2 separate regions of the Homo sapiens genome follow, and region 2 is linked to region 1. Evidence: promoter capture Hi-C in human tissues and cell types (Jung and others, 2019). All regions are on one chromosome and are shown on one strand. Each heading gives the region's core, a stretch centred on a gene start or on the middle of the fragment in contact. The rest is flanking DNA. Distances are from core to core; before and after follow the strand shown.

Region 1 (3,167 bases), core at 173-2,672:
TCCTTCTTTAGAGCTGGGGTGCATGGTGTTCTTGTTGGCAGAGTAGAAATGAGATATCAAGGAAAAAGAAACTGTAACACAACTGGGAACCCTTAACTCATTGTAAGAACTGCCTCCAAATCAACTTCCTCAAAAACTAAAGAACTCTTCGGGAGAGAGAGACTGGCTGATAAACAATCTAAGGGGAAAACTTTTAAAGATTGTAACACTAAAAATAATTCCGTAAAACTACAATGCAAGTCTACTCAACAAAACTTTAAAAATATAATTTTATTTTTCTTTCAAGAGATCATGGGAAAATCTACTATTTTCGTTTAAAATATATAACTTCTATTTGTTACTATATTTGGATTTGAGCTACTACTATTCTGGATTTGTTCCCATGTATCTGTGGAACCAGGCAGCTAATTAATCTTTACTCAGCATCTCTGGTATTTCTTGAATGAAAATGGAATGGATTGGTGGAATTAATGGCTAGATGTTTAGAAGACACTACTTACTTTGTTATTTTCTCTGTATAATGATGAAAGCCTACAACTATACAGAGACATAAACGAGCCAGGGTGACAGGTTGGGAAAGATGAAGAGGGAGGAGGAAAGGATAGGCTTGTAGCCCTCATCCGGTCAAATTCCCAACTTTGAGCTTCACTTTATTGTAAAATTAGAGGCTAAAACTATTTAACGCTTCCAAAACTTTTTGATTCAACAAATGCCAATTAGTTACTAACATAATTAATCAGTGTATCCTGATTTTTAAAAGATATTTTCCTTTGTGATTTAAAAGAAACATGGGAGTTGGAGTTGCAGCGTCAGTCCTGAAGGACTGACCTCGGGAGGCCAGGTAGGAACTGATAAACTGGCAACAAAATCACATGTTTTCAACTGAATATACTGATATTCAAGCGTCCAGAAAAACAATTTCGAGCCTACGTTCACAAGTTTGCCAGAAAGCCCTATTATTGACACAGCTGCGGATCTCAGACATCTGAGTTAGTCAGCACCATTCTGCTGGAGGGGATTAAGACTGGACGCTTCGAGCGGAGTTGGGAATGTTATCATCTGAGGAAACTAAAAGGCGCCAGCAGTAGGACTTTCTCCAAGGTCTCTGACAAAATATGTTGCGGGAAAAGTCAACCCGCCCCAAATTCCCCCGTGTGGCCCTAACTCGAGGCTCTGGCTCCTCGCGCCGGCAAGCTGAGGAAGAGACGGTCCCCTGCGATTTAGATACAAACGCGCGCGTGCAGGGAAGGCCATCCCAGGGCAGACACTGCCACCTCCGCCGCTTCCGACGCCCGCGCTCGCGGGAGAGCCTAGCGCCGCACGGGAACCTCCCGACCACCGCCGCAGCGCGGATGGGCGTCCCCGGGAGCCAATGGACGCGCCGGGAGGCGGGGCAGGGAGGCCGAGGGGGCGGGATTTCCCGCACGGCCGCTCGGCGCCTGGAGAAGGCTGTGCGGGCGGGGACGGCTGCAGCCCTTGCCGGAGAGGGCGGGCCGGGGTCAGCTGCGGCGGGCGGGCCGGCGCGGGGAGCTGTGGGCGGCAGCTGCGTCTCCTGCCACCGCCCTCCCTCCGCCACGATGCCGGGGATCGACAAGCTGCCCATCGAGGAGACGCTGGAGGACAGCCCGCAGGTGAGGCGCGGGAGCTGGTGGGCGACGAGGGAGAGCCCAGCTGGCCGACCCCAGGTCTGGCGCCTCCGCGGCTCCCGCAGGTGCCCGCCCCGGCCCAGGTGGGGGCCGCCGCCGCCCTAGGTCACCGCCCGTCGCAGGCCGCGCCCGGAGTTGTGGAGGCTGGGCCCGCCGCCCAAGGCCCGCGTGGGCCTGCTCGGCTGGGCCGAGGGCCGCAGGCGGAGACCGAGCCGCTGGTGCTCGTGGGCCGGGCGGTCACGTACGCGCGCGGGTCCTTTTTATTTGACGAAAGGCGCCGTTTTTATCGCGGTGATGTGAGGTGCCAAATCTCGATCCTGGAATTTTCTCCCTGAGAACCTCTTCAGAAAAATTGCAGAAGGGAGAGAAACCCCGATAGTCTTATTTAATGATTTCCGAGGCTCAGCAAGCTAAGGAAGGAAATGGATCGTTTTTCTTTGGGAGAGGCTGTAAGGTTGTGTGTGGAGCCCTAATGGCAAAGCCCGTGACGGGTCCCGGAGCCCAAGACCGCTCTCCCCGCCGAATGTGCCCGTGTCGCGGCCGTGACTGTGGTCGCTGTCACTCGAGCTGTGCACGGCGAGGGATGGACGGTGCCTTCGCCGCTCCGCGACTGCTGCGCTGCTCCCTGCAGACTTGGCCTTAATAAACTCATCAAAATAAAAGCCCTGTGTTCTGTGCGTCGGAATGATGCTGATGTGGTTGCTCTAGCTTAAGACAGTTTTGGAAAATGTAACCATTTAATATGTTTTCAGTACTGCAGAATGAAAGCAGCTATATTTTTTAAAATGTTGGCAGGGGCTGTAACTTGCATAGGGAAAACTTCATCTCTAAGCCGTTTTACACGATAATTTAAACGGTTTAAGACGGTGTTGCTGGTTGGACACTATTTAGAATGAAACATTTCTGAATTGTTGCTGATTTAGAAATGCAGTTGCACCATTTCGTGTGTCTTTACAGTTGAACATGGCCCCCAAAGAAGAAAAGCAGAAGAGGTCTAGATCTCCTTTTCCTGGATGGCACTTCTGCCATGGATTTTGTGCCAATGTTAATTGCCAAGTTGAAATGGGGCTCTGATTGTAGAATTGATTTGTTCTTTTTTATTCTGAAAGTTATCTTCACAGGCCAGTTGCCTGCTGCTAATGTACTCTTAACAGCTGATAGTGACAAAAAGAGAAACTCACATTTGGTTTATCTTGACTGCCAGTATACTCGGTTCAATTTTTTTCTTGATGATTTCTCCATATAAAGTTATAAACTGTATTTGTTTCAGATGATTTGCAAAAAGTTTGTGGAATTGGTCAGGTGTACTTTGTCATTTTACTTTTTATTATGTAAGATTCAACAGGTTGCCTTACCTTTCTTCTCTTACTTGGCTTTTTTTTTTAATAGCCCATAAAGACTATAAACGGCTCAGAATGGATTGCACACTGCCCTGGAAATGACTTGTGAGGCAGAGATAAACTCTTGACTCATCTAATGTCTTGAGGTTTTTGCCAGATTAGTTTACAACTTAAGAATTGT
Region 2 (3,167 bases), core at 300-2,799, 400 kb before region 1:
GATGTAAATGTAAATATGAAAACATAAAAGAGAAGAAGATGGGCCTTTCCCTAGTGTAGGAAAGACCTTGCTAACTATGACTCAAAGTCCGGAAGCCAGAAAAGATTGATAAAATTTGTATCCTAAAATATAAAAAGATAAAATCACTTTAAACACTTTTACATGGCAAACAAGAACAACAATGAAAATATAAGCAAAGACAAATGACAAACTGGGAAAATATAGTTACAACTCGTATCCATTTCAGCACCAATCTCTGTAATATATAAAGACTTCCTAGAAATCAAGAAGCAAAGGACAACCACTGTCTCTGTATGACTCATTCATGTTACAACATCACAAGGAGCAATGTCAATTATTGGGCATGAACATTTTAAGAGATAGCAGGGTGTTTATGAGTTAAGGGCATGAACTGAGTGGTCCAGGTTTAAATCTCAGCTCTGCCACTTTCTTGCTTGTGACCTGGGCAAGCTGCCTCACCTGCTTAAACCTCATGTGTAATGGGGGATTATAATCTTCACCTTGCATGGCTGTTGCGAGGATTAAATGCACATGAATGCACTCAGTGACAGCCTCACTTACCAAGTGCGCAGTAAATGTCTGTTGTTGCTAGTAAAGCAGACATTTGAAAATTAAGAGCGTACCCTGGCCAGGTATGGTGACTCACACCCATAATCCTAGCACTTTGGGAGGCCAAGGTGAGCAAATTACTTGAGCCTAAGAGTTCAGAGACCAGCCTGGGCAACGTGGCAAAACCCTGTCTCTACAAAAAAAAAAAAAAAAAAAAACAGAAAAGAAAAAAAAAAGCCAGGCATGGTCGCACACTCCCGTAGTCCCAGCAACTTTGGAGGCTGAGGCTGAGATAGGAATATCACCTGAGCCTGGGGAGGTCAAGGCTGCACTGAGCCATGATCATGCCACTGCACTCCAGCCTGGGTGACAACATGAGATTCTGTCTCAAAAAAAAAAAAAAAAAAAAAAAAAGGCATACCTTAACCTCAAGATCTTGCAGGTACTACTCACAAGCCAAGATATACGTGAAGTACACCAGGAAAAAAAAAATTCAACATTGCTATAACAGTAAGATTTTTCATTTTACATACATTGTTATATTTACAACCATGAATGTAAGTATTGCTATTCCTGTTTTACAGATGAGGAAACTGAGACTCAGAAGGGTTAAGTGACTTGCTTATCGTGGCAGCTACTAAATGGTAAAATTTAGATTTTACTCCATCTATGACTGGCTTTAAAAGTTGGGTGTTCATGGCCGGGCACGGTGGCTCATGCCTGTAATCCCAGTACTTTGGGAGGCCAAGGTGGGTGGATCATGAGGTCAGGAATTCGAGACCAGCCTGGCCAACATGGTGAAACCCTGTCTCTACTAAAAATACAAAAATTAGCCAGGCGCAGTGGCAGGAGCCTGTAATCCCAGCTACTCAGGAGGCTGAGACAGGTGAATCGTTTGAACCTGGGAGGCAGAGTTTGCAGCGGGCCAAGACTGCGCCACTGGACTCTACCCTGGGTGACAGAGTGAGACTCCATCTCAAAAAAACAAAACTAAACTAAACCAAAAAAACCAAGTTGGGTGTTCATTATACTATATCAACCTGTCTCTCCCTCATTTAAAAGCTAGGAAACAATTTGTCCAGCTAAGTAGTAAGAAAAGATACCCAGAGTTGCCATAGTTCTAAAAGTCCCAGCCCTCAGGCGTAAGAACTGACTCTGGTCCAGCAGTAAAACCTGCCATCTGTGGGAGCCTGTTTCTCAGTGGAAGGAGAAGATCCATCCTGGGTTATGGCACATCTTTAACCACGTGTTGCTACTGGTCTTCCTTTTTGTTACATAGAAAAGTTAAAGAGATCCCTTGTATGGTTGTGGGTGGAGTGGTACACACACCACTGTTTCTCTGGGACATTTATTTATTAATGTATTCATTTTTATTATTATTATTTTTTTGAGACGGAGTCTCACTCTGTTGCTTAGGCTGGAGGGCAGTGGCGCAATCTTGGCTCACTGCGATCTCTGTCTCCCGGGTTCAAGCGATTCTCCTGCTTAGCCTCCTGAGTAGCTGGGATTACAGGTGCATGCCACCATGCCTGGCTAAGTTTTGTATTTTTAGTAAAGACGGGGTTCCATCATGTTGGCCAGGCTGGTCTCAAACTCCTGACCTCAAGTGATCTTCCCACCTCGGCCTCCCAAAGTGCTGGGATTACAGGCATGAGCCACCACACCCAGCCTGGGACAGACTTTTATATTGTACAATTGCCCTCCATCCAGGGCCTGCGGAAGACATGTCTTTGGCAGTGAACGTGGGCTCTCATGCAAGCTATCTGAGCTCCCGGTGAGTGTACAATTGGAGGGCTTTTCTCACCTCCTGGAAGCTAGTCCCCTGGCTCCAGCAGCCTACCTGTAGAAGGCATGACAGAGACAGCAATGCCCCCACATTTGGCCCAGGTTGTTCAAAGCCCATAGTTGGAATACTCAGGAAGCTCTAGCTATCCCTGCAGCCCTACAGCTGAAACGAGAATCTGCCTACAGTGGAGAAATAAAATGCCCTTCCCAAGCCTCCCTTTAAGAGGTAATAATGCCTCCCGAAGAACATCTGCCAACCCCCACAGACAGAGCTATCTGAAGCAAGCACAGAACCTTGACACTCTTTTCTGTGGAAATTCCAACACATATTTCTTTGCCTTTAAATCTTTGGAATGCTGATTTAAAATCCTGAAGCTAAAATGTTCTGACAAACAGCAGGCTGTCTTGTCTCTCTGAAACAGTGGTATTTCAGGGGTCAGGGAGAGAGCCCTCACCATCAGCCTCATCAGTCAATGGGTTACATAAGCAGGGATTTGTTTCCAGTCTCTAAGGAGGATATCCACAGAATGTCAGGACTTTAGCAAAGTTCACCAACTCTCTACCAAGCATGGTACCTTATACCAGTCCCCAAATAATAGCAACAGACAGTTTAGGATTTACTATCCGATGATCGTGTTATGGCACTTCACAATGTCCTATAAGGAAAATACTACGATCACCCCATTTTACAGCAGAGGTAACTGAGATACAGAGAGGAGGTGTAATTTGCTCAGGGTCATAGAATTTGTAAGTAGCAGAGCTGGGGTTTCAATACAAGTAGTATAGCTTGAGTATATACTCTTATCCATAAT

The links. Contacts are between HindIII fragments. The study calls those that stand out against the background at their distance.
Region 2: a contact is called between a fragment that was not itself captured here and the fragment with the promoter of APPL1 in region 1, in 1 of the 25 tissues and cell types used here (aorta).

What each region holds. Positions count from the first base shown.
Region 1 is chr3:57,226,307-57,229,473 of GRCh38, forward strand. It overlaps APPL1 (adaptor protein, phosphotyrosine interacting with PH domain and leucine zipper 1), which reads left to right and starts at 1,423. Exons shown (of 22, transcript NM_012096.3): 1 at 1,423-1,631. The coding sequence starts at 1,578. It also overlaps a transcript of HESX1 not described here. RefSeq lists a silencer at 1,221-1,880. The HindIII fragment of the contact is 9,927 bases long and covers 1-3,167 here.
Region 2 is chr3:56,826,986-56,830,152 of GRCh38, forward strand. It overlaps a transcript of ARHGEF3 not described here. Among named protein-coding and RNA genes, the nearest start is that of ARHGEF3, 27 kb to the left of the region's middle. The HindIII fragment of the contact is 7,225 bases long and covers 1-3,167 here.